Linked DNA regions of Homo sapiens: region 2 is linked to region 1. Evidence: promoter capture Hi-C in human tissues and cell types (Jung and others, 2019). All regions are on one chromosome and are shown on one strand. The core of a region is centred on a gene start or on the middle of the fragment in contact, and the rest is flanking DNA. Distances in the headings are between cores, read along the strand shown. Region 1 holds the start of DCTN3 (dynactin subunit 3). Region 2 has its middle 20 kb from the start of NUDT2.

Evidence for each region. Contacts are between HindIII fragments. The study calls those that stand out against the background at their distance.
Region 2: a contact is called between a fragment that was not itself captured here and the fragment with the promoter of DCTN3 in region 1, in 1 of the 25 tissues and cell types used here (lymphoblastoid cells).

What each region holds. Positions count from the first base shown.
Region 1 is chr9:34,618,300-34,622,134 of GRCh38, forward strand. DCTN3 (dynactin subunit 3) reads right to left here and starts at 2,196. Exons shown (of 7, transcript NM_007234.5): 1 at 2,070-2,196; 2 at 377-461. The coding sequence starts at 2,165. ARID3C (AT-rich interaction domain 3C) reads right to left here. Exons shown (of 8, transcript NM_001017363.4): 7 at 3,721-3,810; 8 at 2,750-3,259. The coding sequence ends at 3,159. The HindIII fragment of the contact is 3,867 bases long and covers 1-2,265 here.
Region 2 is chr9:34,347,588-34,351,176 of GRCh38, forward strand. No RefSeq gene overlaps it. Among named protein-coding and RNA genes, the nearest start is that of NUDT2, 20 kb to the left of the region's middle. The HindIII fragment of the contact is 9,311 bases long and covers 1-3,589 here.

The DNA.
Region 1 (3,835 bases), core at 946-3,445:
GCTTTGTCTAATTTCTAGTTACTAAGCAGGTTACTAGTTCTGACATAACCAGGATCTCAGTGTCTAATTTGTTTCCTGCCCCTTAACCTTGCCTGGGAAATCCCATACCCTTTTTACCCTCCTTCACCAAGAGAAGCTTTCAGGTAGAGCTCTTATTTCATAACTTAGGACACTGTCATGGGCTTGAGGTTTAGCCACAAGGTAGAAAAGCACACCACAATTTACCAATTGAATTGGGTGTAGGTAAATGTCCTCATAATCTTTCTATCCCCAAAGGGCTATTCCAGTGACCTAATGAACTGAAGGGCTAGGGCCAGGTACCAGGAAGCTGAGGGGTGGGATGTCGGGCAGGCAGGCACATCATGGAAGCACTTACTCTTTTTGTAGAGAATCTTCACCCTCTCCCTCTTGCTGGAAATGTTCCCCAAAGCCACCTGCACCTTGACCAGGCCGTCAGCCACCTGTAAGGGAAGTGGTGGTTAATTCCAAGATATACTACCTGGCTCAAGGCTTGGAAAAGTTAAAGAACCCTCATTCTCCCAGACTCTCAAACCTGAATCCCAGTAATCTAGGTTGGCCTCCCTTCTCTAATATTAAAGGAGATGCAGCCCCACCTTCCAGGAATCCTTAAAGTGGAGAGAGAGAATCATGTACTCCTTGGGGAGTTTCAAGTCTGATGGGGAAGATAACGAACTATTTTAGAGTCTATGGAATATAGAGTATACACAATATATTTTCTGGTTCCTAAGTCCTGGGTTTGGGCATGAGAAACACAAGCATCCTCATTCAAGCCTTCATGACCTCTAGATTGGCTGGCCTACCTCTAGCCCTATCCCCTCCACATCAAATTTGGTGTGGGAGATGGAAGAGTCCAAACAACTGGGATCCCAATGATGGTGCAATCACTGAATTAGGGAATACAGAAGAGAATCAGGTTAGGGGAGAGAAAGAGTACAGTTAAGGGCATACAGATTGAGTTTGAAATGACTATTGGATATCCAAGTGGAAAAGTCCAGTAGACAACTAGACATAAAAGTCTGGTTCTCAGAACAGAAATCTGGACCAGAGATATACATTTGAGACATATTGACATGTAAATAGTAATTGACACCATGGAAGCGAGTGAGCCTACCTAAAGTTTAGGGGTAGAATGTAAAGAATCCCAATATTAAAGGGTCAAATAGAGGAGGAGACTAAGGAAGTGACTGCACTCACCCAGTTTTTAGGGTAGAGGATGAGGAATGCCAGGGGGGAGGCAAATAACACTGAGAAGCAGCCGTAAGAGGTAGAAGGAAAACCAGGAGGGTCAGCGTCATAGATCCCAAAGGAAGAGAATGTTTGAGAAGTTAGTTCTGAAATGGGAGCACAGTCTGCTAGTGACAACTAATTCCTCATTTAGTGTACAAACAGACATCATTACCTTGGACGCACTTAGCTCCAGGACATGCCTGACACGCCATCAGAAGTTCTTCAATAAAAGATCTTCCCATAGTAGAAAGGGGAGGAGAGGGCACCTGAGCTTCGTAGTTGTCAAAATTCTGTCACTGGTATAAAGCAGTGCTAGTCCACATCTGAATACCCAGTACCCAGTCTCTTCCCTTCCTAATCCTGGTCCTTTCAGACCTCACTTCTCACCCTTTGGCGTTTTCCTTATCCACCTCTGCTCTGCCTCCCCAGGGGTCCCATGGACCTCTTCCTGCACAATTCATTTAGCAATTAATTATGCAGGGCTCTATGACGGGCCTTCCTATCGTGGACTTCAGCTCTTATTGAAACTCTCATTAGTCAGCTTCTCGTGTCAGGTCTCCCCAACTATAGCTCGCGAGGGCAAGGGCGGAGTCTCAGCTACAGTAGGTACGGAGCCCACTCTCAGGCTGGCTTAACCACCCGCAGAGCCCCCTATGACAGTGGACCCCGATGGTCCAATCAGCTCTGGGAGGTCCCGGACCTTTGTTATTTCAAAGGCCGGGCTGCGGAGAACAGGACTGGAGCGGTTGCATCCCGAGGGCCAGGACAGTGGACCGCTCTTGCTCTGCTCCAGAAAGGGACTACCGGACCAGACTACTCACCTTCCGTGAGCCGCGCGCCCCGCCCGGCCCGTACACCCAGCGCTCCAGCTCTTCCACTCGGGCCTGTAGCCGCTGCAAGTCAGTCAGACCCGCCATCGCTACTACCGACCCACCTCGGCCAGGAAACAGCCAGAGGGCGGGACGTCAGTCCAAATAAGAAGGCTAGCCAATCCGAGTGCACGAGCGGCCCTTTATGCAGGAAGTGACGCCATGATTCAGCCCTTCAGTGCCGGAAGTTACTCCTCGGAGCTGTCAAAAGCTGATTACCTTGGCAACGGCTCTGTCCCATCCCTCCCCTGGCTTCCAGTGCCTGGTTGTCAAGATAACCTTTGCTTTTCGGGTACCAAAGAGCTTTCCCCACGCCATTCCCTGAGTTTGCACGTGTTCCAGGATAGGTCCATTCCCATAGATACATCATTAGGAGGCTCCGTGAGTTACCATAAACTTTTGGAGTCTTCTAAGGTTCAGTTGATTAAGTAACTTGCCCAAGGCCACCCAGCACTATAGGGACAGAAACAGGACTTGAACTCAGGCTGTCTGATTCAAGAGACGGAGCTCTTCTATTCTCACGAAACTTTGCTATTCTGCCTTAACCTCTGAAAGCCCCTGGCCCAAGGCAGCCTATGTTCCACATCATTCCTCCCCACCTCCCATACCCAAACAAGAAAGGAGGCATCAGAGAGGGAGGGACCGCAGCTTTATTGTCTAGATGTGACCTGAGGGATGTCTCTTTCACAGTACCCCAACCCAACCTTTCACTTGGCTCCTGAAGAGAAGCAGGGCTGACTCAAAAGGGTAGGGTCCTAGAGATGACATTGACAGAGGGAACACATGAGGAGATGATGGGGTTACTGGAGGAAGAACCCTTTGGTAGGTGCTGCTGGAATTGGCCAGGGAGGAGGTGCCCTCCCTTTACAATGAGGTAGGTGTAACATCAAAAGAAACTTTGGTTTTAAGTCCACATGGCATGGGAGGTGTCGTCCCCTCCCAGGGCTGGGTCCCAGAGTGGGCAGCCAGAAAGAATCAAAGCAGGGGGTCTCCTCCCCCCTCAGCAATGGGGCTGGGACTCTTAGTTTCAAGTAGGACCTCTCAGGGCAAGATGCTGGAAGGGGGCCCTGTGGAGGGTGGGGGTGCAGGGTTGGTTGGACCCTGGGAAGCTGGCACAGGCTGGCGGCGGGCAAAGAGGACACCTGGCAAAGGGGTGAGGAGATGGTAGAGGGCAAAAACAAGCAGGAGGGGGTAGGGTATGGAAACAGAAGAGGGGAACAAAAGTAAGTGTTCTGGTTGCTAGAACACTACACACGTACCCCTGCCACAAACCAATGAGGACAAGCTCCTTGGGTCAGTAAGAGACTCCATTGCTAATGTAGATACCTCAAACAGGTAAACAAGGAATATTTATGCTGATACATAGGCCCAAGACAAGGCAGACATCCCCTGGTACTCATGCCAGAGAGGTCATGCCTTGGATCCCATGCCATGTAGACACCCCCTTTAACCCATGCCAGTCTAGCAATCCCCTGAACTCCATGTTACTCATGCAAGTTTAGATATCCCTGAACTTCATGCTAGTAGAGGAAGTCTAAAATCCCCATGCCAGCCTAAATACCCCTGACCCCATGCCAGTGTAGACAGCCTGCAGTACCCATACCAGTGTAGACCACCCCGTTGATCTCTAGGGCCATGTTGATACTGCTGATGCCACTGCCTGCCAGATTAAGAGGCCCATCCAGCCGCTCTTCTGTCCAGGAGGGGGCAGAGGAATC
Region 2 (3,589 bases), core at 294-2,793, 270 kb before region 1:
GACCCGCCCGTCTTGGCCTCCCAAAGTGCTGGCCCAGGTTCTTTTTTTTGGTGGGAGGACAGAGTCTCTCTCTGTTCCCCAGGCTGGAGTGCAGTAGTGCAATCTCAGCTCACTGCAAGCTCCGCCTCCCATGGCCCAGGTTCTTTATGTAGAGTTTCAGTGGATTAAGTGAGCAGGGCAAGCAAAGAGATTGCTGATGTGGTCGTCTTTACACTCCACAGGAGTTTCCCTGGGGAATAAGCTTAGGGAATGGGGAGCTAGAAGAGCATCTTGCTCCATCATGGGGTTGGCTCCAGAGTGTAGCCTGTTGCTTCTTTTTACAGGGATCAGAAGAAAGATGACCAAGGTTGGGCATGTGGCATTGGCTCACACCTGTAATCCCAGCACTTTGGGAGGCAGAGGCAGGAGGATCACTTGAGCCCAGGAGTTAGAGACCAGCCTGGGCAATGTAGTGAGACTCCATCTCTAACAACAACAACAAAAAATTAGCCAGGCATGGTGGTGTGTACCTGTAGACCCAGCTACTCAGGAGACTGAGGAGGGGAGAATTGCTTAAGCCCAGGAGGGTGAGGCTGCAGTGAACCAAGATTGTGCCACTGCACTCCAGCCTGGGTGCTAGAGTGAGACCCTTATCTCAAAATTAATTAATTTTTTTTTTTTTTTTGAGACGGAGTCTTGCTCTGTCACCTAGGCTGGAGCGGAGTGGCGCAACCTCAACTCACTGCAGCCTCTGCCTCCCGGGTTCAAGTGATTCTTCTGCCTCAGCCTCCTGAGTAGCTGGGTCTACAGGTACACACCACCACACCCAGCTAATTTTTTTTTGTATTTTTAGTAGAGACAGGGTTTCACCATGTTAACCAGGATGGCCTCGATCACCTGACCTCGTGATGTGATCTGCCCGCCTCGGCCTCCCAAAATGCTGGGATTATAGGCGTGAGCCACCGTGCCCAACCAATTAATGTTTAAAAAAAAGGAAGAAGAAGAAAAATGACCAGTTCTTCCCAAGTTCTCCATAGAGGGTGACTTAGGGAAGGAGCCTAGGCAGAACCACAGTTTGGAGAGGAGAAGCCTCTGGCTTGAGATACCTTTGTTTAAACATTTATGTCATCACTTTTGTGGCTCCTAAAGTCCTGCCTCCTTCAAATAGCTTTCCCAGGCTACTCAGAAATTTCTGGTTTCCGTTTCCCTAATGGCTACTTCCTCTCTCTCAAAACTCATCTGGCACCTTAGGAAGTTGCTTCATTAAAAAAAAAAAAATCTGTATCCAGTATGACCATTGCTCCTTTAGCTCAGGGGTCCCCTCCCACCCACCCTCTCAAGATGACCAGTGTTGGCTGGGCACAGTGGCTTACGCCTGTAATCCCAGCACTTTGGGAGACCGAGTTGGGTGGATCACCAGAGGTCGGGAGTTCGAGACCAGCCTGGCCAACATGGTGAAACCCCGTCTCTACTAAAAAATACAAAATATTAGCTGGGAGTGGTGGTGGGCACCTCTAATCCCAGCTACTCAGGCAGCTAAGGCAGGAGAATCGCTTGAACCCAGGAGATGGAGGTTGCAGTGAGCCGAGATTGTGCCACTACACTCCAGCCTGGGCAACAGAGCGAGACTTTGCCTCAAAAAACAACAACAACAACAACAACAACAACAAAAAACAAAAAAAAGAATTACCAGTGTCGTTGGCCCTCCAACCCTAGGCCTTTTCCTCCCTGCCTATCTCATGTGCACTGTGTCTCAGACACTCTCAAAGATCATCATTCTCAGACACACATGCTGAGGCAAAAGGCACAGGGCTGAGAGAAGCCATGTGGAGTGATGGTCTGGTGTTTATCTCTGGCTTTGTCACTACCTGGATACGTGATCTTGGGCAAGCTCTGAACCTCTCTGGACATTATTTTCCTCATTACAACAAGGGAGTTGGACAAGATGATCTCAATGGTTTCTTCCAGATCTGACAACCTGTAGGATTGGGTTTGAATTTTGACTCCTCAGATTACTGTGTAAAGATCAAAGCTCCGAAAGACGCTTCCTCTGTTTGATTATTCTGTTTTTCTAAGACACTCTAGTTTTCTAATTTGAAGTTCAAAGTGCTAAGTGTAAAGTTATTCAGTAAGTATTGCTTAGACTAGTATATAATTTAAAATACCTGAATACCCATTACCAGGGATTAATAAACTTTGACACATGCATGATATGAAATATTATGCAGCCATAAAAAAAAATAGGATGGTCCTTACATAGAACCTTTGTACCTATTAAAATTTAAATTTAGGCCAGGCGCGGTGGCTCATGCCTATAATCCCAGCACTTTGGGAGGCCAAGGCAGGTGGATCACGAGGTCAGGAGTTCAAGACCAGCCTGGCCAAAATGGTGAAACCCTCTCTCTACTAAAAATACAAAAATTAGCTGAGCATGGTGGCACATGCCTGTAGTCCTAGCTATTTGGGAGGCTGAGGCAGAGAATTGCTTGTACCCAGGAGGTGAAGGTTGCAGTGAGCCAAGATCATGTCATTGCACTCCAGCCTGGGCAACAGAGCTAGACTCCATTTCAAAAAAATAAATAAATAAGAACAAAAGCAAAATGCCATATGCGGGGCTATCTGGCCACCAGTGGAATCAGGGGTCTGACGCAGTGTGGTGGCCAGCTGGGACAGGATAGGGGATGGAGCAGTCAGCCATGTTGCTCTTTGCAGCACTTTGGCTTTCTTTCTCTTTTTCTTTCTTTCATTTCCCACACTACACCGATGAGTTTTGCTTTCTTGAGTGGATGTTGAGGGTGACGATGACGACTCCCAGGACAAATGCCAGGCCAAAGGGCTGAAGCCAACATGGCTGTCTGAAATTGGTTCGGTAAAGGAAGAGAATAATGTTGTGCTTCCTTCTTGACCTAATCGCCACTTCTAGTGGAGCTATAAGTACACCTGTTGGAAGGTGAGAATAGCATAAACTCTCTCTTCCAAACTATCTCCTTTACATTTCTTCCATCACTCCTACCCAAGATCATGCATAGTGTTTATTCCCAAGGACATATGGGCACTTATCTTTCTGTAGTCAGTTGAATGTCTTTTCCAATGGTCTAGCTTCTCTGGCAGGAGTCAGAGAATTACAATGTGAAGAACAATTGTGCAACTCTGTTTAAAAGTTAGGTATGAGAATTGGGGTCATTTTAATATGGACTGGATATTAGATCATATTAGGGAATTATTAATTTTCTTAGATATGAAAAACAGTTGTGTAGGAAAATGGCCTTAGGAAATGCATGCTGAAGAATTTAGGATGTAGTGTCACAATGTCAGTAAGTAATGCAACTTTGAAATGGTTCAGGCCAGGTGTCTCATGCCTGTAATCCCCCACTTGAGGAGGCTGAGGTAGGAGGATCACTTGAGCCCGGGAGCTTTAGACCAGCCTGAGCAACATAGTGAGACCCTGTCTCTCCAAAAAAAAAAAAAAAAAAAAAGTTAAAAAAAAAATTAGGCAGGCATAGTGGCACATGCCTGCAGTCCCAGCTTCTCAGAAAGCTGAGGTGGGAGGATTGCTTGAGGTTGAGATTGCAGTAAGCCATGACTATGCCACTGAACTCTACCCTGGGAG